Linked DNA regions of Homo sapiens: all the other regions are linked to region 1. Evidence: promoter capture Hi-C in 16 types of primary human blood cells and fetal thymus (Javierre and others, 2016). All regions are on one chromosome and are shown on one strand. Each heading gives the region's core, a stretch centred on a gene start or on the middle of the fragment in contact. The rest is flanking DNA. Distances are from core to core; before and after follow the strand shown. Region 1 holds the start of PHF20L1 (PHD finger protein 20 like 1). Region 2 overlaps ST3GAL1 (ST3 beta-galactoside alpha-2,3-sialyltransferase 1). Region 3 overlaps ST3GAL1 (ST3 beta-galactoside alpha-2,3-sialyltransferase 1). Region 4 overlaps ST3GAL1 (ST3 beta-galactoside alpha-2,3-sialyltransferase 1).

What was found. Contacts are between HindIII fragments. The CHiCAGO score rates a contact against its expected background, and 5 or more counts as called.
Region 2: a fragment that was not itself captured here is called in contact with the fragment with the promoter of PHF20L1 in region 1 in 4 of 17 cell types (fetal thymus, total CD4 T cells, naive CD4 T cells and 1 more); the score reaches 6.8 in fetal thymus.
Region 3: a fragment that was not itself captured here is called in contact with the fragment with the promoter of PHF20L1 in region 1 in 5 of 17 cell types (activated CD4 T cells, total CD4 T cells, fetal thymus and 2 more); the score reaches 7.3 in activated CD4 T cells.
Region 4: a fragment that was not itself captured here is called in contact with the fragment with the promoter of PHF20L1 in region 1 in 1 of 17 cell types (activated CD4 T cells); the score reaches 6.6 in activated CD4 T cells.

The regions. Positions count from the first base shown.
Region 1 is chr8:132,772,649-132,779,302 of GRCh38, reverse strand. It overlaps PHF20L1 (PHD finger protein 20 like 1), which reads right to left and starts at 3,915. Exons shown (of 21, transcript NM_016018.5): 1 at 3,658-3,915; 2 at 1,392-1,511. The coding sequence starts at 1,474. It also overlaps a transcript of TMEM71 not described here. RefSeq lists a silencer at 3,481-3,930 and an enhancer at 3,685-4,186. The HindIII fragment of the contact is 4,916 bases long and covers 1-4,802 here.
Region 2 is chr8:133,454,310-133,460,905 of GRCh38, reverse strand. ST3GAL1 (ST3 beta-galactoside alpha-2,3-sialyltransferase 1) reads left to right here. Exons shown (of 10, transcript NM_173344.3): 10 at 969-6,058. The coding sequence ends at 1,142. Among named protein-coding and RNA genes, the nearest start is that of ST3GAL1-DT, 110 kb to the left of the region's middle. The HindIII fragment of the contact is 1,203 bases long and covers 1,461-2,663 here.
Region 3 is chr8:133,475,663-133,482,837 of GRCh38, reverse strand. ST3GAL1 (ST3 beta-galactoside alpha-2,3-sialyltransferase 1) reads left to right here. Exons shown (of 10, transcript NM_173344.3): 4 at 6,238-6,560; 5 at 6,764-7,119. The coding sequence starts at 6,814. Among named protein-coding and RNA genes, the nearest start is that of ST3GAL1-DT, 91 kb to the left of the region's middle. RefSeq lists an enhancer at 147-196. The HindIII fragment of the contact is 1,982 bases long and covers 4,513-6,494 here.
Region 4 is chr8:133,513,319-133,519,485 of GRCh38, reverse strand. All of the region lies in intron 2 of ST3GAL1 (ST3 beta-galactoside alpha-2,3-sialyltransferase 1), which reads left to right. Among named protein-coding and RNA genes, the nearest start is that of ST3GAL1-DT, 54 kb to the left of the region's middle. The HindIII fragment of the contact is 946 bases long and covers 2,227-3,172 here.

The sequences.
Region 1 (6,654 bases), core at 2,666-5,165:
AGTTGTCATTTGGCAATGTCTGGAGACATTTTGATCGTCACTAGGAGAGATGCTACTGCCTAGTTCCCAGGTACTTCCCAAACCCCTCCTAAGAATTACCATGTACATTCTTCACCTAGTGACAGTATCGATTAACCTCCCCATCTCAAATTGTAGCTTCAAACTGTCCTAAAGTGGAGCTCAAAACAAGAGGTCATTAAGCTGGGGTCAGAGATATGTGCCAAGCTCTAACGCCAGATGTTAAAAGAGAGAAACCCCAGCCTGGTCTATACAGTCAAATATTATGACTAAACAAGATTTCTCTGCCTGCCATTGCCAACTCGGGAAGTTGACTTAATACAAATCAATCAAAAGTAAATCTACAAAATGCCCAGTATGGTTTTAAATCAGAGAAAATGTCAAAAAGTCTGGGAAAGTCCAAGAGCTGCTAAACAAGAACTCGCATCAAAATAAACGGGCTTCAGGAGGAGCAAAGGCAGCATCCCTCCCAGAAGCGGAACCCCTCTAATGCCCCTCTCAGGTTAGGAGCCTGCAAATGGCAACAAAAGACATCTGCCAAGACAGCAGAATGAGGGGCCAGTTAACCCAAATGAGGAATACGCTCCTTAGGAGAAAGGAGAATCCTCCTCATTCCTACTCTGGCCCAGGGACCCCTGCATGTAGCTTCCCCTTCTCTCCTTTCCAGATAGTAGTTTTATACCAATTCATCAACTTTTCCTAACCACTGTATAAAGGCTATGTTGGGAGGTGTTTAAATTTACCACTTACCACAATGGCCAGAATAGGGGGAGACACACAAGTTCTGAAAGGACAGCCTATTTTGCACTGGAGACAGTAACAACCTGCCTTTAGGTTAAGGCCCACCAGGGAAAATAGGAGGTTAAGTGTGATTTTGGTTTTAGGTGAGATAATGAATAGTGGAGATGTTTTTGAAAGTGTTCACTATGAAAAAATGCTATGCTAACCATTAATATACTCTGTAGTTTGAAAGACTACCACTGACAGACCAAAAATACCAATTTAAATCAAAATTTATCCAAAACATGAGAAGTTGGTTCTCTGGATTACTCCTCTCTCTACTTCCACCAATACAGCTCATGTGAGGTATACATGAGGTATACATAAACCGCATACTCTAGACAATTATTTTCATTTCTCAAACACCAAAAATGATTGTTCTAAATAATTTAGTCAGTTGACTAAAAATAGTTTTTAAATGCTAAACCTAAAAAGCCTAAAGAGTAGGAAAACTAAAAAACAACATATATGTGTAATCGAAATGTGAATACACTGATGTTTCTGCTACCATCAGTGGAATTTACTGTTTTAATTAACATATGTAAGGCTACAGATATTGTGATATTTAGGTGAAAGTTCTATATTTTCCATACCATTTTTGTAAGTAGTCCAGTGCCTCCAAACGAGCACCAATCTCAAAAGTGATTCCAGGGCGATTTGGGGGCTTTTTACTCATCTTGAGATCCTATTCTTCAGTATTCTCTTTTCACTACCTCAAGAGAAAGAAAAAAGTTAGATTCCAATGCAGAAAATGCATAGGAAGTAGAGTATAAGGGAACAGGTCAAATTAAAATTAAACAGAATTTCTAAAACAATACATGAGAATATGAAATACTTGCCAAATTGTTAAGAAATTTGAAGGAGTATTACCAACATCTCTATATAAAGTTCTGTGCAATCTGCAGGCAATCTTGATAATGATTTAAGAAAAAGAACAAAGAAAACTATCTAAAAAGAATGAGTAAATGGACTGTTAAAAATTGTTAATAGCTAAAAATGCTTTACATTTGAGCTTCCAGATACCCAAGAAAATTCTCCACGGGGAGAGCTGAAAATGCTTTCCTGCCTTTGAAAAATTAAGACAGCTGAGTGTTCTGGAATAGGACTACTGAAATTCTTGAGAACAAAATCAATTTTTAATTTCAACAAATATTTGTTGAGTGCCTCATAATACAAAACACTAGATAAGGCCCTACAGCACACAAAGATGGAGGAAACAGTAGGCACACTCCTCTGCCAGTGAAGATACCACTAATTCCTCTTGGGATTAGGATTTTTCATTACCCATGATCTCCCACCTTGGTAGCACATAATTCAATAATTTTAATTTAACATACAGTATTACAAAAGAGACTGCTTTCTTATACTTTACATTCAACAAGCAATAATAACATGCTTTTGTTAACTGAGTATTTCTACTATATTTCAATTTAGACAGTGTCCACATTGATAATAAAAGTGGTTGTAATGCTAGAACAAAAACTGCAAAGGAGTACCTATGTATCCCTAGGTCATTCACATGCAAAGTACTATATTTTGGGCCACAGTGGCCACCGAGCACACTTGAGGTGGCCTCTTTTTCACTAATGGGTATGTGAGGAATATGAATACATTTTGAGATAACCTAATCAAAACATAACTCATAATTAAGAATGTAAATTGATTGTTATCAGGGGCGAGGAGAGATCCGTAAAATGTCTTTCGGTATTTGAGATCACTAATGACTATGTTCCCTACAGTTTAAAAAGAAAAAAAGAAACACACACACTTGTCATCTTTTATAATGGTTTTGTCACAATTCATAATAGACAAAATAGAACAACAAACATAAAATTCCAACTGCTCCCTCTTTTCTCTTTGAAAGAGTCTGATAGGTAAGGGAAAAAATAGCATCAATACTGGCCATGAAAATATGCGAACTCAAATACCCATGGTTGGAGGGGGAGAGTGGGTATCCTCCTGCTATGGTATAAGCAAATATTAGAGCATTAAAAAGTTAACAGGGAGCTTGCCCAGGGTGTAGCTGGTGCAAAAGAACAAATGTATGAATATTTTTAATAGAGGTCTTGTCAGTGCGCAACACGTAAGGCAGTTACTTAAATGTTTGTGTAGAAATCGAATCAACCTTTTCTGCTGTCTGTCACAGGAAGAATTCAGTAAGGGATAGTTCACAAGGTACACTAACATCTAGAATCAAACTTAGAGCCCATAATTAAGTGATGGATTGAATGAGTATAATCCCCCAGTGACACTTAGGGATGAAGTACCAGAAAAAAAACAAGATTTTCCTTTGTCTTAGGTTCGAAGAGGGAAGGATGAAGAGGGATTTGAATTAAGGAACTTTCATAAAGTAAGACAGTCTACTGGGAGTAAAACTTGAAGCAAAAACAAGGCAGAAAGCACGGAGAGGAGTAAAAACAGTAAGGAAAGGAGCAAAGAATGGCAAGAAATAGGACAGTGGAAGTTTTCGGAGATGACAAGTTAGAGGGAAGAAGAAATGAGCAAGAAGACATAGAGACCGACAATGTAAAGCAATGGTCAGAGAATGACCGCCAGGCCAAAAAAGGTGAGGAGGTGAGGCCAGACAGAGAGGGGGTGGCACGAGACAGGCAGGAAAGGCTGACAGGGCTGGCAGGGAGCTGGAGAAGCCTCCAGGTTTGACAGCCATCCGGCCCTCCGCAGGGGGGTAAGGAAGGGAGGGGAAGAGGGAGCTGCGGCGCCCAGACAATAGGGCCGGCGAGTTACGGGGAGGGAGGCGGGAGGGGAGCGGGCCGGAAAGAGAGACACCAGAATGGGGGCGTCCCGGGCGGCCCGGCGGGGGCCAGGCGGCCTGCCGGCTCAGCCGCCGCCGCCTCTTACCGACTCGGCCTCCTCTCTGCACAGCAGCCGGGCCGTCCGGGGCCGAGCTGGGGCACGAGCAGGGCGGCCAGCCCGGGCCTCTGCCTCTGCCTCCGCCCAGGCAGCGGCCGGGGAGGGAGCAGGAGCGGAGCGAGCTGGGGCCGCAGCGCCGGATCCGCCCAAGGTTTCGCGGGAGGGAGCTGGGTCCGAGCCCTCAAGCTCGCTCAGGGTCCGCTGCCATCGCCGCCGCCGCCGCCGCCTCCGCCGCCGGCCAGCCCTGACGCGACGCCGGGCCCCGGCGACGTCAGCCGCCCGCGACGTGCCGGAAGCGGGCCTGGCCTTGTCACGTGACTCACGAGGGTTGGGCCCGGGCCGCGCAGCCGATTGGCGGGCCGCCGTAGGAGGCGGGGCTTTGCGGTCGTTGACGGACCGCTAGCGGGCGGGGCTCTGGTTACTGGAGGAAAGAACGCGAGCTCTTGGTGCCTATTGGTAGTTGTGAAGTATTTGACCTTTGAGATTTGAGGACGAAGGGCATTGTTTATTATTCTTGATTCGTTGGGAACCACGTCACCAAAACCCCTTTACCCAGGACCCTTGGCAAACTTTTTCAAATGCATTACATGCTTTCTTAGATATCCATCCCACTCCACATCAAGAATAGAGCATGGTTACTACTACAAAATCAATAAACCTCCCTTGAATGGATGCTTTGTGATAGACACTAGGCTGTAAATATGTCACATGACAATCACAACTGTACAACTGTATTACAATTGTATTGCTTTCCAGTCTTGGAGATCTTTACAATACAAAGACGAATATTACTAAGATGTGTGTACGCGCGTGCTCAGGCACAGCTGAATAACCTTAACCTATGGCTACATTGATATCACTTCCCCAAGACTACACAGCTAATGATAGCAGAACTGCTTTTATCGAATACCTACCCTCCCAAACTTTACTAAGCACAGGAGACAGTATCCTTGCTGTGGGGAGAAACCAATAAGTGAACACATTGAAAATAATATTGAAATGAAACATCTTTTTTCTCTTGGTTTCCACTGTACCACTCTGGTTTTCAAGTGCAACGTTGCATACAAATGTCACTTATATTTATCTTGCTTCATAGTGTGGAGTTAAAATAGCAAAGTAACTCTCTTTAAGCTTCAGTTATAGTAAGATTTGGTAAATTAAACAATCATTCTTTTTTTATTCAACAAACATTCATTCAGCATCTACTAAGTCACTAATAGCTACTGAGCTAGACTGAGCATGGTGATACATAGAAAAGATATAAATAAGACAGTCTCTAGTGGATATTTGTTATAGAAAAGATATAAATAAGACAGTCTCTAGTGGATATTTGTTATCTTGTTTTTTGGTTGCCCAGCATCTCAACTCTCTTTCCATGTTTGAGAAATTTCTCATCATGGTTGCATTAGTTCAGAACACCAAATACTTGTAGCATCTTCCTTAGGACATGACAGGATTATACTTTCCACCCTCCTTAGAATTATGTATGGCTATTTGATTTGCTTTGGCTGATAAAATGTAATTAGAAGTGAGATTTGTCATGGCCAGTTGGTAATTTTTAATGCCAGCTCACCAAAGTTTCTGTCTCTGGCACAGTGTAAAGCACTGCTTGAGATGATAGCTGCTCTACCATCCAGGTTCTAGACAGATTATGATGAACCAAGGCCTCACTGATAATCTACAACTACTGTGTTGTATAAGGAAAAAAATAAATATTTATTATTTTAACTATGGAGATTTGGGTGCTGGATTGTTTGTTACATGGCATAATCCTACCCAAACTAAATGATACATCCACCTTATGAATCTTGGATGCAGAATCAACCTCCCACTAAATAAGATGAAAATATCAGAAACTCATGTTTCCAGTCTCCCTTGCAGCTAAAGTTCTAGCCTCAAGTAAAACTCTTTTACCAAGGACTTTGTATCAGAAGTTGCTAATGATGTTCAAAATAAGGAAACTTTTCTCCCACATCTGTGGCAGTACCAGTATTCAAGTTTCTGATGGTCAGCCTGGAGTTAAATCTTTCTGAACTCTGGCAGAACCCCTGCTGAATCACAAGCTAGTGACTGAGAAAAAATAAATATCTATTATTATACACCACTAAAAACTTGAGGTTATTTGCAATTTAAATAAAATACATACATAAAGAACAACAGATTCTGTCCATTCTCCCAACTATTTGTTGAGAATCCACCCTGGAAAGATGATTGTTCCATTTTAATTGGAACTTGACAATGGGTCTTCCAATAATGACACTTGAAAGAAAAAAATAAAATAAGGTCTTATGTAAATGATCCCTAGCTTCAGTGAATTGTATAGGCTTAGTAATCCTCTGTGGAGTTAATACCGTCCCCTAGAGGGCACTTTGGAAATGGAGGATGGTATTTTATTGTCTCAGGATTGGGGTAGGGCACTGCTACTATTTAGTGGGAAGGGACCAGGGCTGCTAGATATCCTGAAATGCACAGTGCAGTTCCATACCTTGAAGAATTGCCCCAGGTCATGCATGACTTCTAGATGTCCTTCCAGACATTCATGTAGGTGAAAAACCTGTTTATAATTGTCCCTGCCTAGAACTGCATTTCACATATAAGTATTTTTGGAAGGTTTTAATATACATTAAATTTTACAGGAATGAAGCAACTGTGTAATGTAAGGAAACACTGACCTTTTTTCTGAACATTATCAAGAGTCTATCTCATTTTAAAATATCATGCCACCAACGGCTAATTACTCATAGTATTTGAGGCACTGATAGAATGCACCTGTGTCAGTCTAGTTGCGTAGCTGTTACATTTAGGGAAATCTAAATTTAGATACAAGCACCTCACTACTTCATTATATATTTCTGTGATACATGGATGAATGTTAAGTATTGAAATATATATGATTTTTATGAATTATTTTCATAAATTTTTTATATTATCATAGTCATATTGATTTTTAAGTATATATGTATAGCTTGGTTATGTTATTTATGA
Region 2 (6,596 bases), core at 813-3,312, 680 kb before region 1:
CTTTGTCCCCACCCCTCCAATCTATCTTCCACGCTGCAGCCCAGATAGCACGTCCTCTCCCTGGAAGCCCCTCCATGCAATTCCTTCTGGTCATCTTGTACTCATTTTCCAAGACCCAACTCACATGCCACCTCCTCTGAAGAGCTTCCTCTGACCTCTCAGGGCATAGCTCCTCCCTCCTCTGTGCTGCGGGAGCCCTGAATTTAGCCCCATTTCCAACAAGGACCACTCAGTCAGTGACTCCAAGAAGCTATAAGCTCCAAGGCTGCTTCCCCCTGCAGCTGCCCAGCTGGCATCTGATCAAGCTCTGCCTGAACTTCAGTACAGCCAGCAGGGTGCTGGGCTCAGAATAAATGCACAGGGTTTGTCATGTATGTGAAAGGCCTGGTCTAGTGGCCCTGAGGGCGCCTGGACCAGATGAATGTTGGCCACAGAGAAGAAAGGGATCAGCCCTGCCCTCTGCCTCACTGCAATCATGATTCTTGGACCCATTTTCCAGATGAGGAAAGTGAGGCTCAAAGAAGTGACTTCACATGCCCAGGGCACCACGGAGTGGCAGAGCTGGGATTTGGGGCAGTTTGCTTGGCCCCAAAGCCCTGCTCTCCTTCCACTCTCTTCCATTCCACGCCCTCCTTCCTATTCCTTCCCTCTGTAGCTCCTCAATCCTGGGAGAATAGGTTGCACTTGCTGCAGAGGTAAGACCCGGGCCCCTGAGACCACCCAGATGCAGTAATCTCTCAGGGTGCTTCTGGAATTAGACTTGAGTTTTACTTAACTTGCATTTGCTTCACCAAGACTCTGAGAGTTCCAGGAACGTAGAGAAGGGTTTTTAATGAAGGGTTAGTCAGAGTCCTTGGAAATGCTGTTTATGGTCCTGTGGGATTCCAGGAACGCCTACAGGCTTCCTTTCTCAGAGGTGCCACCAGCAGCCCTGCTGTCTGGTTCTCATCTTTGCTTTGCTCCCACAGGTGGACTTGTACGGCTTCGGGGCAGACAGCAAAGGGAACTGGCACCACTACTGGGAGAACAACCCATCCGCGGGGGCTTTTCGCAAGACGGGGGTGCACGATGCAGACTTTGAGTCTAACGTGACGGCCACCTTGGCCTCCATCAATAAAATCCGGATCTTCAAGGGGAGATGACGCAGTGAAGGGCTGAGGATGGACGCACTGTCACACCTCTGCATTTCCAGCCCCAGCATCTTGCTGGAGCCGTTCCATCCCGGAGCTTGGAGGGGCAGCCTCAGGTGTGTGCCTGGGCACCGCTCACAGCCTCTTGCACCCAGCCGTTGGCAGCATCTACTCAGCAAGGTCACTAAGCTCTGCCAGCGTGGCAGAGCATGTCTTGGAACCTGTCTTGAGTGGGGACAACGTCCCCCCACTGCTGCCCTAGAGCTGGGGAGACGCTGGGAAAGGTTCAACCTCCACACACTAAAATCATTTTGGCTCCTGGGGCAAGCTTGGGGAATGAATGTGGAAGATGCCTATATTCTGAGAGACAGGACAGTTTCCCAGGAAGATGGGCAGAGACTTGAGTGGCGATTACCTCCAGCACAGAGACGTGCCAGGCGGTGTTGGCGCTCGGGGCGAGATGCTGCCCTTCTTTGCACGAAGCCTGGCCTCTTGCTTGGCGTGATAACCCTGTCATCTTCCCAAAGCTCATTTATGAGCCACCAGAGGCTCCTACCCCAAAGATTTTCACAGAAACTTGAGGCCAGGTGCCGTGGCTCACACCTGTAATCTGAACACTTTGGGAGGCCGAGGCGGGAGGATCACTTGAGCCCAGGAGTTCAAGACCAGCCTGGGCAACATAGTGAGACTCCTGTCTCTACAAAAATAAAAGATTTAAAAAAATTAGCCAGGCACGGTGGCACACACTTGTAGCCCCAGCTACTAGGGAGGCTGAGGAGGGAGGATCTCTTGTGCCTAGGAGTTCGAGGCTGCAGTGGGCTGTGATCACACCACTGCACTCCAGCCTGGGCAACAGAGTGAGACCCTGTCTCTGAAAAAAAAAAAAAAAGAAAAGAAAAAAAACCCCAAACTTGGCACCGTGTTTCTGACTCCTGCAGATGCCTCTTCCCAAGCAGTTGTTCCTTTGAGTAGTCAGTCTCATGGTTCTAATCGTGGCGAGAGCGGATCTGACCACTTCCATGTGCCTTTGTATTTGGGAAAGAAAAGCATGCATTGGCTGAAATGAAACAAAAGCCCTTACTTGGGAAAAGGGACCCCCACCAGCGGCCCTGCTTGCTCCGTAGCTGGGAACATCTTTTCTGGTTTCCTGAGCCAGCACCTGAATTGCAACGAAGCTCTGAGGATACTCAACACCACCCAGCAGTGCGTCAGAATGGAACGTACATTCTCATTCTCAGACTGTTCAATATGGTGCCCGTAACCTCCAAAGCCACACAGGAGGCTGCCAGCAGCATTTTCCCCAAGGGCCTGAGCTCAGGGTCAAGTCCCTGCTGGCCATCTTGGGGCTGTCACTGGGGGTCTGGGTCAAGGACATCCCAGGAATGGTAACTGCCACATACCTCATCTTCTTACTCCCCAGCTACTCTCTTTTCCTCATTAGCCTTCCTGATTATTTATTGATTTCTTTTTTTTATTCAACTGACATTGTTTGCACCCTGGCTCTGTTGGTGGTCCTGGTGTTTTAATGAAGCTTGCCTCACCCAGTAGCTGGGAAATTAGGTGGGGGTGCTTAAGGGAGGTTTGTAGGAGTCCTCGGACGTGGGATATTGGGGGTATCTAGGGCTTGGATGGTTTGTGGAATGTCCTCAGCATCCTCCCGTCCCAACCCAACCTTCCTTCTTCCTCATTGTGGACTTGGATTTATTCTCAGGCTAGGAGTCTCCAAAACTCCGTGAAACCTTATTGCTGCTGGGTGTGGAGTGGAGAGTGACAGGAATGTGGGGGACGGTGATTGTTGGCTCCAGTTACTAATGTTTAAGCAGAAAAACCACTTTCTTGTTGAAAATATCCCTGAAAAGGTCGCTGCTGCTTTGAGGAGGCGTGACTTTTTCCTGGTGGAGTGTGACGGAGGCATGGGGCCTGTGCTCCCAGGCTCGGGGGAGCCCCCTCTGCACACGGGGAGGGAGGAACTTGGGGACATCAGTCATGGGTCACAGGTGGCTTCAGGCCATTCACAAGAGTCCCCGGAAGTTGCGTGCCAAGTTTGGTTTTTTCCCTGAATCTCTGCATATGAGCATTTTTCTGGAGAAAGGACCATAGCTTTTATTAGATTCTCAAAGGTTCAGAATGGGGAATGTGTTAAACAAACCGAAAACCTGTTTCAGCTTTAAAATCCTCCAAAACTTTAAAGACTTTTCTTTTTTCTGAGAAAGGCTGGTAAATCACTGAGTCATCATTCAGAACATACAGCCTCGAAGGGCAGAGCTCACACCCATATATGACGTTAAGAGCTCAACAAATGTTTGTTGAGTGACTGAGTGACCCCAGGGGCAGACTCCAGATCATCAGACACTGATACAGAGAGCGATGCTATCTCCTCAACTCTCCCTCTTCTCCTAAAAGCTGAGTCTATATAGGGATGACAGGCTCAGGCTGAGCAGTCGACTTCTCTGGGTTTTGCTGTGTAAGAATAGGTCCCTCAACATGAAGATGTGTCTGCGTCTGAGCCAGATGCTGCCTGGGTCGGTTGCCTGGCCTCCGTCTGGTCTCCCTCCCTCCTACTAGGGTGGTCAAGCTGTGAGATCTCTTCCAGCCTCCAAATCCAGCTTTCCCATTTTACTGATGAGAAAATCAAGGCCACATTGCAGCTGGGTGGGGAGTGGAGCGTGACAGGCACGGGAGAGGACAGCGATTGTTGACTCTAGTTCCTGATGTTTAATCAGAAAAACCACTTTTCCTGTAGAGCACATTTCCTAAAAGGCTGCTGCTGTGTAGGGAGGTGTGGCCTTTTCCTGGTGCAGTGTGAAGGAGGGAAGTGACGGGCAGTCGTGAACTGTCTGGGACAGATAGCACAAGTCAGAGTTTGAGCAAAACTAGGGTGTTACCGGCGCTATGTTGAAATTGTCTGGAGGCGGGCTTTCCCAGCGAGTCTCCATTCAGCATCTGGAAAAAGTGTAACCAGAATGGAGGTGTCTGACTCTCCTGTGCTCTCTCAGCGCCGAGCTCTAGCTGCAGGCTGCCTGGGTGGCCTTCTCACACCCTCCCGTGCAGGAGACTGCATTTCTCTTTCCCACAGCCCAGCAGATAGCTCATTGGCTTAGCAATGGGCACTTAACAGAATCCAGTTGTTGCAGCCAGAATTAAATGCACCAGTCTGGCTTAAACCAACTGGAACTCATCCCTGGGGTGAAGGTGGCTGGGAATTAGACAAGAGTGTGTGTTAGCCAAAAGGCACATGCATGCTGTCAGCAGGAGAATGAGGAGCACTGGTTCTGGGCAGGCAGTGGCAGGGGCTCCCTCAGGCCCCTGATTCCCAGCCCACAGCTCTTTCTACTCTGCAGACAGAGTTCCTTGGAGACTGGCCCTGCATTCAGGCAGGGAGCAGAGGGGTCCCTGCCTGCAGCACCCAGAGCTGAACCTGAAGCTACAAAGATGGGCTGATGAGGTGGCCCATGAGGTGTCAGCAACATCCCAACCCCCTGGGTCTCCCCAGTGAGTCAGGGCACTGATTTGCTATAGCTGGAGCTACATGCACCTCTCCTCCCCTCAGCCACCTTTTAGGGGAGAAAGGAGGGCAGATTTGTAACCTCTGGTTCTCTGCAGGGATCCTGGGCTGGAAGAAAGTTCATAAATGGATGAATGCCTTTTAAAACTCCAGCTTTTCCAAGCATCATTCACCAAAGCATTTGGTTAGGCTTAGAGAGAAAAGCTGGATATGAGAAAATAGAATGTAAAATAGGAGGGAAAAAAAAAAAGAAGGTGGAGAGGGCAGTTAAGATCTGGGTGATTCTTTAGGGAAACGGCTGGTTGAGAGGCTTTGATGGAATCCCATTCTCTGCTGTGGCCAGAAGGTGGTGCTAGAGGCCAGTCCCACTTGGATGTGACCCTGGCCTCTGCCAGGATTCAAACCACAAAGAACATTTGGAACTGGGATGTTTGCTTTGAAGCAGCCCGAAAACAAGTGAAAGGAAACCAAGATAACTCTCTCTCCCTCCGCTGGCAAGGATCAAAAATACCTTGTGCAGGGAAGCCCGAGCCTCGAGGGGCCACTGCCCAGCTAAAGATGACTGGACACCAGCCATGCACCATCAGGAACCAGCACCTGTCCTCACCCCTGAGAAGAGCCCCGGGGGTATCATTATATCCATCGCAGACATCTGGTTTGCAGCAAATGTGGCTACACGCCATCAGGATTATCCTGCCCTGTGGACTGGGCTAGCTAGTTTTGAGATAGAGTCAACCTCCCCATTTTTGTTTGTCATGAAAACACCAGCTCCTGCACCCCTGGGGTGCTACCTGACACCTGTGCAAAGAAAAGGAGGAAAACTTAGAAGAAAAGGCAGAGACAGGCAAGACAGCATCTCACAGCTTGTCAGGATCAGGGCATTACCGACTATTTTTTCTTACCAAAAGAGCACTGAATTTCCTAGGGGAAGGTGAGCCACCTTTACACCTCCTGTCCTCCCTCCCAGCCCGTCAAGCGATCCCATCACCCAGCCTCATCACTCAGCTTCTTCCTAGTACAAAACTGCCATCGGTTGTACGTCCTGAGCTGTGGGACGTCAGCTTTAACCCTAGCCTGTCTCAGGGCCTCGCCCTCCAGCCCCCCGCCCCTTAGGGTGATCGTGGGTTTCTTCCCTTCCTCCTGCACAATCGCTTCCCTTCACTGAATTCCCTTCAAAGCCAAAGTTTCTTGAGCACTTTTTCTTGTGTGCAGTCTTGTGTGTTTGGGTGTTGGTGTTTTTAAATTTGCTTTCTATTCCCCCCTGCCTCTCTCCATGTCGTTACGCAGCTGAGCACTGGTTGGGATGCATTCGAATGACTTCAGCAAGATCCTGCTTTCCTCAGCCCCCGCTCTGTTTTATTTATTGTTTAATATTTCCAATGATCCAAATCAAAGTGAATAAACAAAGAGCTATTTTATTGTTTGGGTGTGTTTGTTGCTTTTCTACAAGGGTCATGCATTTGCGCCTCCTTCAACACTCCAACTCAGAGGGCCTCCTGGGTTGGCGTCGCCACTACCGAATGGCCAGAATTCAGGATACAGAGGAGAGCCCCAGCGTAGGCCTTGGAGAGGCCTCTTCTCAAGCCCAGGAGTCCCATTACCTGCCGTGTGACTGGCGAGTCACCTAAGTTCTCTGAACCTCAGCTGCGTGTCTCATGTATTAAATGGGCGCGACAACACTGGCCTTCAGAGGGGATGTGGGAGTAAAAACAAAAGCATCTCCAGAGGCCCAGTAGACATGCACCACCTGCTTGAACGTTTGCTGAGTGAATTCACCTTGGCCAGGGCCTGATTGGGCTGGGCTAGTGTCTGTCCTCCCCCGACAGAGACGGGCACACCCAGGGATGGACAAGAGTTTGGTCCAAAGTTGGCACTAATCTCCCTTTAAAAAAAAAAAAAAACAGATTCAGAAACCCAATGTTGCGAGCCTGTAAGATAAAATTGGTATACACAGTAACCAG
Region 3 (7,175 bases), core at 4,254-6,753, 700 kb before region 1:
AGTGACCAGGCATGGGCCGGACAGCAGTTCAGAAAGGAGTCATTCTTCTTACTGGAAGGTTTGAGGGCCATTAAGTATCCAAGATTTACTGGTCAGGTCTTACTTGGTCCCACCCTGTGCCCATACATGAAGCCAGCCGGCCAGGATCCCAAAGGCCAGGACATGGGAGGATCTGTTTTTCAATAATGGGAAGTCCCCGGATGTGTTGCATTGGAAGTCATCTCACTGTCTGTGCAGAGCTGGCCTGGGAGCAGGAGGTTCTGACATAAAGTGAAAGCAGATGCAGTGGGGCCGCTTGGGTGGGGCAGGGAGGTGGTGGCTGCCATGGCTGCAGCTGCAACTTTCCAGCCTGCAGATCTGCCTCTTCCTCCCACCATCTGTGCACTTGGCTGGTGTGAGGAGGTTTGCCTCGGCACCTCTGGGGCCTCTCTGGGCCCCATCCTCTTCTCTGAATTTGCCACGCCCGTGACACATACAGGCAACCACTCCAAGAACAGGAACATGGAAAGGCAAAGAAAAGATGCTGTGACTTCTACTTTGGGCAATGGCAGAAGCTTGTACCAGATCTTTTCTCCCACTGAGAACTATAAAAGCTGGAAAAACTTGAAATCCAGCTCTTTGAAGGCATTAGAGAACAACTAAAGCAGCCAGGACTTGAGGTGCGAAGACCCCCCAAGAGAAAGGAAATAAGTTGGGAGAAACCCAATATTCCCTGCTCATTTTCTGCACGAGGTATGTGCTGATTTTTGCAGAGGGTTCAGAGGACGAGCAGAGAGCAGCAGTTCAGAGTGTTTGGCAGTCTCGCAAGGTGGGGAAACAAAACAGAGATAGGTAGGTAGGTAGAGGGAGTCAGTGAGTTCAGGACTGCTAGGTCAACCAAAACCCAAGGAACCAAGAACCTAGAGCAAAAACAACCACAAAGAAAAGAACATGTGCTCTGTGCCTTCTAAAATTTTCCTTTCAAGGCATTTGCCAGCACTTAAGTTTCATGGGTCCAGAGTCTAAGAAACCAAGCAGAAAACAGCAGATGAAAAGCTAAAAAGACTGGGCATGGTGGCTCATGCCTATAATCCCAGCACTTTGGGAGGCCGAGGTGGGTGGATCGCCTGAGGTCGAGAGTTCGAGACCAGCCTGACCAACATGGAGAAACCTCGTCTCTACTAAAAATACAAAAATTAGCCAGGCATGGTGGCATGTGCCCATAGTCCCAGCTACTTAGGAGGCTGAGGCAGGAGAATCACTTGAACCCAGGAGGTGGAGGTAATAGTGAGCCAAGATCAGGCCACTGCACTCCAGCCTGGGCGACAGAGTAAGACTCTATCTCAAAACCAAAAACACAACAACAACAATGACAACAACAAAAAAACCCAAACAAACAAAAAAGAAAGGCTAAAAAGTTAAGCTTACGGTGATCTCATAGTACAGGGGAGACAGAAATTGGAGATAGGAGCCTGTAAGGAAGAGTCACCCTGATAAGCATCTTGGTTTACCTGTTGAGAACGGCTATGCCCCAGGGGTAAGAGTAAACCAGAAATAGACCAGTCTTCATGAAAAGTGAAACACAGCTGCAGTTAGAACAAAGTAATGTGCCACTTCTGTACCTGCTCATCAGGAGACAACCGGTCCTCTCTGAAGGAGGACAGCCTCATCCAGAGCCTCTGCATTTTTGTCATACACAATACAAACAGCAACCAGGCCTGCCAAGGACAGAACCAAATAACCAAAGAAAGAAAGAGCAACCGAGAAAATAGACAATAGAAATACACCCACATTATCCAAGTATCACAGGATATCCAATGTGGGCTTTAAGACGGCTGTGGTGAATAAAATTGCACAAAGATAGATGACAAGGTGGAGAAATTCACCAGCAAAGTAGAACCTGTCAAAAAATTAGGTAGAAATTCCAGAACTAAAAGACACCACTGAAATGAAGAACTGAATTCATAATTCAAATAGAGTAGGCACAGCAAGAAGGGGGAGTAAACAAGGCTGGAAAGATGACAGTAAACCAAGTCCAAAGAAGTTATCAGAAAGGGAATGGGGAAGATAGGGAAGATAAGAGCAGGTATTGATGGAATTGAATGATGAGCCACGGCTACACAGAAAGCCACAGGAGAAGGCAGGAGTCTGCCTTTGCTACCATTTTGCTGTGTGACCTTGGATAAGTCACTTGCCTTCTCTGGGTTTTAGTTTTTCATTTCAGGGAGACAAGCGTAAGGGTTACCCACCTCTCCTGGTGGCTTGGGGATCACATGAGGAAAGTTGTGGCCACTCTGTATTGAAAGCGTCAATTTTGCCAACAGCCTGCACAGTTCGCTCAGGCATTTCTCTAGTGACCATAGTGCCAGGGGCTGTGTGAAGGGCTGGGAGGGCATCCCAGCCTGTGATGGGTATTTACTACCATCCCGTTCAGTGGGTATTTACTACAGGTTCAAAACCCCGTGTGGTTCCTTCATTTGTGTTTCCAGGAGTTTCACACAGTTCTCTCAGTCTCTGGTCATTGCCCCTCAACTCCCTATTGCCAGAGGAGTTTATCTTCATTAGGGACTCTCCTTAGGGAAATTCTTACTTTTCAGTCCCCAAAAGTGTGCTGACATTTGTCAGTCTTGTGCTGGTGACCCCGCTAAGCTCTGTTGTGTGCAGGTGCTTCATGCCTCCTCGTATTGAGCATGTGGCTGGGAAATGACTGCCATTTGGCAGAGGACAGGGAGCCAGCTTCCCTCCTTCCCCATCCTTCCCTGCTCCCTCTCTTCTTTCTCCTTGTTCTGGGGGGCCCGGCCTCCCTCACCGCACACTTGACATGCAGAGATCTTTGGTCTGTGGCGTCTTGGCCCAGATGTCATTTCCGGGAGCCAGGGCTGGCATTCCCCCATGCCTGCAGGCTGCCCCACGCTTGCTAGAGCACGGAGAAGACATGCAGTCCTGGTTTCTTCCCTGCAGCCAGGGAAGGGGTATAGCGGTGTTCTTGCTTTTCCATTGCAGTTTTATCCAGGGCTTTGGAAAGCGCTAAATGATACCAGCTCAGAAGCCTCTGATGGTTATGGGGAGTGCCCTGGCCTTGGAGGTGTGGCTGCAGGATGCCCCAGAGGAGAGGAGGCTGTCACAGTCCCACAACCTGTGCAGCACAACCTTGCCCTCTGCCCTGCCTCTCACGCCATCCCTAGCAGCAGCCTAGAGCATTAATATCTCTCACGCAGAGGCAGGACATTGTAGGAAACCTGACCTCTCATCCAGAGCCTTGTTTGATCAACACGGATCAACAGTCATCTGTTTCAGGGAACTCATCTCTGCCCTGGCATTAGGGGTGCAGAGGCACTAAGGGCAAGGGTGTCCTAGGCCCTGCTCATTATAAAGGCAAATGTAGTAAGACCATGGCATTCCTCTGCTCAGCCCCACCAGCAGGTTTCTATGTCACCCAGAGAAAACTTAGTCTTGACTGTGGCTTCTCTGGCCCAACACACTCTCACCCCAGCTGCATGCTCAGATTCCCCCTCACCCCCCACCCACTCCTCTCCTCCACACTGTGTCTGATCCAGCCATACAGGCCTCCTTTGCTCCACAGGGTCTGGGGCCCTATTGATGCCTGGGAGGCGCCTACCTTAGATCCTTTTACGATGCACCCCAGCCACCTTGTCCAGGGCCTGGAGAACGCAAGGACCAGCAAATATGCAGTCAATGAATGAGATGAATGGACAACCTTGATGGGCTGACGGCCCCGAGAAATGAGCAGAATTTGTGTTATCAATCCGTTTTTCCCATTGAAGGGATGGTTCGGAAGGGCTAGGTGACTTGTTCATGGTCACGCAGTGAGTAGTGTGGGACAGGCTGCTGAGAATGGAAATGTGACTCAGAGTCTGTGCTTTCTTTCTCAGTTCTCCCTCTGGACTGTTGGCCGTTTTGTTTCCCTTCATTCATTTCTGGGTTTCTTCATGACCCAAGCCTCCACTGAGCATTGAGTGTGTGCACGGGTGACAGGGTCACTGCCATAGTGAGGCTGAGTTTCCATCCTCACATTGCTCCCAGTCCAGGGAGGAGACATATGTGTGAAGAGCACAGACAGAGTGCAGCCAGGACCCTAGGGAGCCAGGAGAGGCCCCTAACTCACCCCAGGAGAGGGCAGGGCTTCCTCCAGGAGTCAGCACCAGCTGAGCCCTAGAGAATGAGTAAGAGCCATCGGCAAAGCAGGGTGGGGTGGTTTTCTGGACAGTGGGGACAGCCTGAGCAGGGACACGGAGGTAGGAGCAACTGTGACCTCTGGGTCAGTCACATTGCTTCAAGTTACAAATAACCTACTTTACCCCATAAAGGGGATTTATTCCCTCATGTAACTGAAAAGTCAAGGTGAGGGTGGGGCTGCAGGTTGAGCAGGATCAGGGATTTAGCACCATTTGTTCGGGTTGTTCAGCTCTAGTCTCTTCTACACACGCTAGCAAAATAGCCAGCAGGATGTTCCACATGTCAACAACAAGCCAGCCAGAGCAAAAGAAAGTTTCTTCCCTCCCTACAGAAGCTTGGCTGGATGAATTAAGGCACATGCCCATCCCTGGATCAATTACTGGGGTAAGAGGTGGGAACCCTCTGCCAGTCAAGTGAATTGTGAGCCTATCTGTGATGATGCAGAAGTTATTCTTACTTAAATTACAGAGCTGCTCCTTGATGGGGGCAGGTGGGGAGAGAATTGGATGGGATACCTGTGGACACCACTAGGTTATAAACAAAATCTAGGTTGTCATGAAAAGTGAAAACTGGAGCAGAGACCGGATAAAAATGACGTTGCCAACTGAGCTGCAGAGCTCAGACCTTGTCCTCCATACGTTGGGCTTCTAGTTCTGGAAGCTGTAGAGGGTTGCACCCTATGCATCTTGGGCCCTGGATGTCTTCAGAAGGGCACTGTGGATTTAATATGGTTTTGGAGCTGTCCCCCTTTCTACCAAAAGGTGATCAATCTCCTTTCAACTCTAATTTTCCTGGAAAAAAATATACCCTGCTTATTGACAATCTACACCTTGAGAATGGGGAGGAATCGATCAGATTTCTTCCATTCTTCAGCATTCCAAGCAAAGACCAAAAAGACCACGCTCCAGGGCAGACGTGCAACCACAGTTGTACCATACAGAAATCCCAAGGTGTCGGTGAGAGCCAGAGGGGTCTCCGATGGGCATTTGAGAGGTACCTGTTTGCCTTCTTCAAAAGAATACTCCCCCCTTGCTCTATATCCCTCCAGCCGTAGTAATCTGAAGACCAGTTAACAAGACAGGTGTCTGCTCCAGGGTAGAGCCCCCCAACCCCCTGTTCCTGGTCCCCCAACCCCTCCCGATGTAAGGAATCAGAGGACTGTGGATTTGGACTCGGATCCTGCTCCTTCCTTTCCTTAGGCAAGTCATCTAAGCACTTTGAGTCTCAGTTTCTTCCAAGACAAAAAGGGAAACTAATATCTAGCTGACAGTATATTCTGAGGATTATCTGAAGAGATACGTATGCATGAATATCTCATCCTCTCAGCTCTTAGTGGATCATCAGAGAATATTGATTCATTCACATGTTGAAGAAGAAAAATTAAAGTTCAGCAATGGCCTAATAGATACCAGAAGCCCAGCATACATCATTTTATCTTATCTTCATAACCATTCTATAAGTAGGGGTGTTAGTATCCCACTTTGCAGAAGAAGAAACTGAGGGTCAGGAAGGTCAAATAACTTTCCCAAGGCTCCACAGCTGGGAAATCAGAACTTGAACCTGGACCATCTAAAGCCCCTTTTTATGGAACTGAGGCCAATTGGCAGAGCTTGAATGCCCAGGTAAAAGGAACCCTGGGCCACTCTCTAAGCATACCATTGTTGTTGTGCTTGTTGCTGAAATCCAAAATCTGGAAGAGAATGAAGTAGAGAGAAAGGCAAATAACATGCATTTAACAATTCCTGTGTATATTGTACCTACATGCATCACGAGCTCTTTGACAAATGTTTGTTGAGTGTGTCAATGTGCTAGGTTCTTGTTGGAAACATGGAGGGGACACCTTCTGCATCCCATAATAACCTTGCAAAGAGATGATAACATCCATTGTATGCACGCACTCAGGCTCACAAAGGTAGATAAACCATCCAGAGCCACCTGCCAGGTTGGCATGACACCAGAAGGAAGACCACGGAATACGTCCTGGTGGAGATGTGGAGAGAAACATTTTTTATAGCAGGATCACAGAATCTCACGCTGTTTTCTTCCTCCTTTTCTTTGCAGATGACAGACAACCTTCTGTGCCTTCATCAAGCTGGTTGTGTACCCACCATGTCCCTGGCGACAGGATGGGAAAGAAAAAGCCCTAATTAAGGATCGTCAGAAACCACAGTTGGAGGAGGACGGCAGAGACAGTTTCCCTCCCCGCTATACCAACACCCTTCCTTCGAGGTCCTCGCTCCTGAGGGACCCTGGACTGTCACAGAGATTAATGACCCCTTATCTTCTTTGGATGTGAAAGGAAATCACTGGTTAAAGCTTGATCGAGAGACATTATCAGCTCTTTAAGGATTGCAGAAGAATAGGCTACTTTATTTTCTGAAAAGGTAAATATATGCAAGCAAAGCCAACATGCCACGAATGGCGTTGGTCTACCACACAGCCGTGTCTGGGACACAGTTGGGGGTCATCCCCCAGCAGGAGTGAAGTCGAGCTTAGCGGCCCTTGTGTCCTCCCTTGGAATTCCTGCCATCCCTTTTGATTGAGCCTCCACCTCTGGGATTTTTCTTCCATTTTTCTCCTCTCTTAGGAGGGAGTTCCTGCTACCCATCGTGGGAGGCCACCATCAGGACTGCGAAGATGGTGACCCTGCGGAAGAGGACCCTGAAAGTGCTCACCTTCCTCGTGCTCTTCATCTTCCTCACCTCCTTCTTCCTGAACTACTCCCACACCATGGTGGCCACCACCTGGTTCCCCAAGCAGATGGTCCTGGAGCTCTCCGAGAACCTGAAGAGACTGATCAAGCACAGGCCTTGCACCTGCACCCACTGCATCGGGCAGCGCAAGCTCTCGGCCTGGTTCGATGAGAGGTTCAACCAGACCATGCAGCCGCTGCTGACCGCCCAGAACGCGCTCTTGGAGGACGACACCTACCGATGGTGGCTGGTGAGATGCTGCCTGAGAGCGGGGTCTGGGCTGAGAGTTGGGGTGTGGACTGAGAG
Region 4 (6,167 bases), core at 1,450-3,949, 740 kb before region 1:
CTTCCTTTAACATACATAAGAACATTCTGGAATTTGCTCAGTAGCTTGCACAGCTCTAGTATTTACCCAGGAATGGAATTGCTGGGGCCTAGGGTGTGCCTGTGTGTAACCTGCCTCTGTACCTCCAGGTACGTCCTTGCACCTGTACCTCCATTAGCTAGTGTGGCTAATGAGTCCACACTTTCACTCACAGGGCATGAGGCATGAGTGTCTGCACATGCCTGCTAACACTTGGCATCACTGTGCCTTCTTGGCATCACAGTGTCTTCTAATTTTTGCCAGGCTAGTAGGTGTCAAAGATGTCTTATTCTGTTTTTATTTGCATTTCTGATTGCTAATGAGGCCCTAGACCTTCATGCCTGCCCTGCCTGCCCTCACCAGGCCCCTCTGTCCTCCCTTTCCCTACCCTACCCTGACCTCCATGTCTCTTCTGCTTACCCTTCAGAATTTAACATAGACAGACGTTTGCACCTCCGAGGGGCTCTAATCTCAGGCCTCCTCTCTTCCCTCCACGGGCTGCCCTTGTCAATAGCAGCCTGAGGTCGTGTTTACAGATTCTCCTCCAGAGCCTTGCACTGCTGGGATCAGAGTCTGCTCCAGCACCTACAGGCTCTGTGGCCTTAACCAAGGGCCTTAATCTCTCTGAGCCTCAGATCCTTACTTGCAAGCTGGGGATTAAAAATAGCACCTCCTAGAAGACTTTTCTTGAGAATTAGGTGGGATAATTTATTCAAAGTGTTTGGCGCATAGTACTGCTGAGCAAATGTAGCTTTTGGGTTTTAGAGTCCTTGCAGTCCTTGCTTGTCACTATGTTTACCTGACCAGCCTCCAAGCCTAGGGAGTCCTCCTGGGTGGGGCTGTGTTTGCTGCATTTTTGTATTCCCAGCTTCCAGCAGTGCTGGGCAAACCTGAAGTCCTTGACTAATTGGTATGTGTCAGTCTCGCTGGATAAGATTTAAGCATCAAATGAAGGGTTGCTCTAGATGCCCTTTTAAAAGTCTTTTCCAACCCTGAAATTCTCTGATCAGGAAATTATCAAGGAAAAAGTTCTCCTTGCAGGATCTTTTCTAAGATTTCTAAATGGGGACTTTATTACACGGGGCAGGTAATTACAGGAGGCTGCAGCTGCAGCAGAGAGCTTCACATGGCTGGTGGCTGATTGGTGCATTTTGGAGGCTGTCATCTTTGTTCTGACTGGGGGATTGGAATCCTGGCAGAGGCAGGGCCTCTCCCTTAGCAGTACAGTGGAAGGCAGCCCTGCAGGACCCACCCTCAAGCTGGTCAGCCCTCCACTGACTGCCCCAGGGGATGGCAGGCAGCATCTGTTGGCATGTGAATATCAGACAAGTCATGGACAGTAGGAGCAGAGGTGACCGTTGGAACACTCAGCCCAGGAGTCAGTTTCATATATCCCCAGGGGCCACGTGGGTAACACAAATGGGTTGAAACATCTGGGCAAGACAGTAGAGAGCAGTGGGGTCTGCAGTGAATTGTAAAACTGACTAGGTGCCAACCAAAGGAGATGGCTGCCACTCAGCTCTGTGAGATCGTCCTATGGATAATGTGAGCTCAGGGTTCCTGGATCTTCCCCACCTTTTTCAAAGGTAGCCAGAACTCTAGATTTTTATGTAAAACTTTCTGATTATTGTTGCACCTAATTCAAAGTTTTGTTGTGCTCTACAGTGCAGACAAAACATGCCTGTGGGGCAATTGTTTTCATACCTCTGATTTAGCCCAGTATTTGACAGGTTGGGAAACTGAGGCTCAGCAGTTAAGGACTTTCCAGAAGTCCCCAGGGAGTTAGTGACCATGATGGACACAAAGTGCCCAAGTCTGGGCCGGGCGCGTTGGCTCATGCCTGTAATCCCAGCACTTGGGAAGGCCAAAGCAGGCAGATCACTTGAGGTCAGGAGTTCAAGACCAGCCTGACCAATATGGTGAAACCCTGTCTTTACTAAAAATACAAAATTAGCCAAAGTGGGTTGGCACGCGCCTGTAGTCCCAGCTACTTGGGAGGCTGAGGCAGGAGAATCGCTTGAACCCGGGAGGCAGAGGTTGCAGTGAACTGAGATTGCACCACTGCACTCCAGCCTGGGTGAGAGAGTGAGACTCTGTCTCAAAAAAAATAATAAAATAAAAAAATAAAAAAGTGCAAGACTGGGTGAGTTATCCACCAGTTTGGTGGGCTCTTCCCCAGCACCTTTATTCAAGGCAGGGACTAAAGCTTAGAGGAGTAAAGGGACAGGGACTTGCTCAAGGTCACATAGCTTGGAACAGCAGAATCCAGAGAAGGACTGGGGCTTGCTGGCCCTCATCCATGGGACTGTCCAGCCACTGTGTTACTGAAAACGTCCCCATAATGGTTTCAATAAAGTCCTAACCAGGAACTTGGCACAGGGCAAATTCTAGCCTGCTGCCAATCAGCAGGAAAACAGCTCTTATGCCAGTGGGCAGGAAGCTGCCAAGGTGTCACTTCTGCTCAGAGAAAGTGGTTTGTGTATTTGCTGAACTAATATGTTCACCCTGAAGGTACAGAGATCAACTCTATCTCTTTCTGGAGGGTCCCTCCAGCTGGATGCCTGGAGTCTGATTTGACGACATTCCTTTTGCCCTTGACCTGGTGTTCTTAGAGAGCCTGCCTATCAAATCTCATAATCAGTGAGGGATGTTGATTCTTCTTTGTGATCGGGCACATGACTTAGGAAACAAACCTGGGCTTAGAGTTATGAGGGTTGTAAGCAGTTCCAGCTTGCAGTGTTTTAGCTGTGACATTGGGCTGGCCACTTTTATAATTGCTGCCCTGCCAGCCTCACAGAGCTATTGTGAGACTCTGGTTGAATGGATGGATCTAAATTGCCAAGAAAACAGCTAAAGAAATGTAAACTGGTTTTGGCCTTATATTCCTCCTCCTTGAAGGATGACATTTGAGCTGGGACAGGAATGATAGGAGGGAGCCAGAAAATTCAGCAAGTGCAAAGGCCCAGGGGCAGGAATGAGCTTGATTCCCCAAGAATGGATGGGGAGTGTATTAGTCTGTTCTCTGCATTGCTGTAAAGGAATGCATGAGGGTGAGTAATTTATAAAGAAGTGAAGTTTATTTGGCTCACAATTCTGCAGGCTGTACAAAAAGCATAGCACTGGCATCTGCTTTTTGTGAGGACCTCAGGAAGCTTCAAGTTGTGGCAGAAGAAGAAGGGGAGCTGGCATGCCCCATGGAGGGAGAGGGAACAAGAGAGAGGGGAGAGTGCTCATAATAAATATTGATAAAATTATACCTTCTAGGCATAGCAGGGAGGATCAGTAGACTTACCCCCATTAAAGGCATAATAAGGACCAGTGCAATGGCTCATGCCTATAATCCCAGCACTTTGGGAGGCCGAGGTGGGTGGATCACCTGAGGTCAGGAGTTCAAGACCAGCCTGGTGGGTTTAGTAGAAACTCTGTCTCTATTAAAAGTACAAAAATTAGCCAGGCATGGTGATAGGCACCTGTAGTCCCAGCTACCTGGGAGGCTGAGGCAAGAGAATCACTTAAACCTGGAGGTGGAGGTTGCAGTGAGCCGAGATCGCACCACTGCACTGCACTCCAGCCTGGGTGACAGAGCAAGACACCGTCCCCTCCTACCAAAAAAATAGACATAATAAAAGCTAACATAATATTTATATAAATAGAGGGCATTTGGTAATTATGATTTATCACAATCTACTGAGTTGAAATCATTTGTTTTGGTTTAACTGAGTACCAATTCATTCTAACCTCTTTTGGGCTTACTCATAGGCTAGGCCTAGGATTAAAATAATAATTAGTATGAGAGCTGTGCTAATTATTAATTTTAGGTTGCTTGTCTGGAAAACTCATGGTAAGGGTAATAGTAAGAAGATTTCTCCATCAAAGAGGAGAAATGTCATGACTTCTAGAAAAAACTTTATGGAAAAGGGGAGGTGGCCAGAGCCTACTGGGTCAAAACCTCATTCGTAGGGGCTCTTTTAAACAATGAGAACCCTTGAGAACTAGTAGAGTGAGCACTCACTCATTACCCGGAGGACAACATCAAGCCGTTCATGAGAGATTTGCTCCCCATGACCCAGATGCCTCCCACAGGGCCCCACTTCCAACACTGGGGATCACATTTTAAGGTGAGATTTGGAGGGGACAAATATCCAGACTATATCAGGAGCTGACATGACTGAAACAGAGTAAGGGAGAAAGCAGTAGGACAAAGCAGAAGGGGGCTGAAGTCTTGCCAGGAGCAGGGTGTGGGCCCAGGAGGCCTGCTGCCTGGCGTGGCATGGGAGCGAGCTCTCTTGCAAGATGGCAGTGAGGACCTCGTCCTCGGAGGCAGGCCTTTCCACTAAGGCCAGGACCATGATGGGAGAGCAGAGAGGTCCAGAAAATGAAGAAGCTGGCAGAGGGTGGGGGAGTTGGATCACCCCAAAGACATCATCAGGAAGGGAGGGGCAGGTCATCTGGGCTGTGAAATATGAGTAGGGTTTGTCTGGGCAGCAAGAGGGAGATGGACTTCCCAGAGGGCTTGGCATCTGCTGGGGGAGCGGGGGGCCATCGGAGGACGGCACATGGCAATGTGTGGTGTTGCTTCCCTCCTGCCTTGGAAGCTGTGAGTACCCCCACAGGATTGAATTGAAGGCCTAGAACCCTGGATGGGAAAAACCAGGAACCCAGGAGATCTCGAGGGTCTTAGCGGGCAGACCCATGTGATGTCTGAACCCTGACCCTCCCCACCTAGTGCCCCAGGATTGCAGAACACCTCCTTCCTTGTAGCCTTGCTCATTTGCTCAGAAGTCAAGGCCCAGGATGGAATCTCATTGCCTGAGAATGCAGGAGTACGAGGAGCTTCTAGGGAGCCCTTGCTTCTGTCGTGGGAGGGCAGCCTGTGCATTTACCATCCCACTAGGAGAGCATGCGGTGGAGGAGAGGTGCTCCCCAGGAAAGGACTGGCGGCTGTAAGATGGGAGCACAGGATCCTTTGGGAGCAGGGCAACCCCAGCCCACCCTCACCCTCTTGATTCCTGCCTGTTCCATTCTCTTCCATGGCATGGAAGGAGCCCTCACCCCAGGCTCCTTGCTGGAGATATGACGGGGAGCAAATAGCTGTGACACTGGTCCATTCTGAGCTCCTGCAGTGATCCTAAAGCCAAAATGAATAGTACCCAATGCCTGTGGCCAGGGAGCTTGCTGTACTGGGTGGGAAATGGTCCTATGAAGAATGAACTAGGGATGGGTCATTGGTGTTAATCTTAGATCCCCATGAGTAAGAAAGGACATACCTTTGTTGTCTGTGTCACTTTGATTATTAGTGAAGTAAAACTACTCTTTGTAGCCTATTGGTTGTGTGCATTTCTTCAATATTGATTTGCCTTTTATCTACTATTTTAAAAAATTTGTGTTGTGTGCATTTGTGATGATCGTTTTTGCAAGAGCTCTTTGTGTTTATTATGGATATTAGCCAGGTGCCCGACATGGGCTGAAAATACGCTTCCTGGTTTGCCATTTAGTTTGCACTGTCATTCAGGGCATTTAGTCTCTTAGCACAGGGATCAAAATTTTTTCTTTTCTTTTTTTTTTTTTCCAGACAGAGTCTTGCTCTGTTACCCAGGCTGGAGTGCAATGGCGTAATCTCAGCTCACTGCAACCTCCACCTCCTGGGTTCAAGCAATTCTCCTCCCTCAGCCCCCCAAGTAGCTGGGATTATAGGCGCAAGTCACCACGCCTGGCTATTTTTATTTTTGTATTTTTAGTAGAGATGGGGTTTCACCATGTTGGCTAGACTGGTCTTGAACTCCTGACCTTGTGATCCGCCCGCCTCAGCCTCCCAAAGTATTGGGATTACAGGTGTGAGCCATTACGCCCAGCCAAAACCTTTTTCTAGAAAGAATCAGATAATAAATATTTTAGGCTTTGAGAGCCGTGCCATCTCAGTACCATCTGTTTGTGCCATTGGAGCACGAAAGTAGCCGTGGACACTGTGTACACAGACGTTCACATTTCTTATGTGTTCAGTCTTTTCTTCTATATAAATATGGGAGGCCTTCCGTACTCCAAAATTAAATGAAAGAAAAACAAAAAACTAGAGAAGAGGAAAAGTCCTGAAAAGTGATGTAAGTGTAATGCCCCAGCAGTGATGAGTGCTCACAGAAGATGTACTGGAA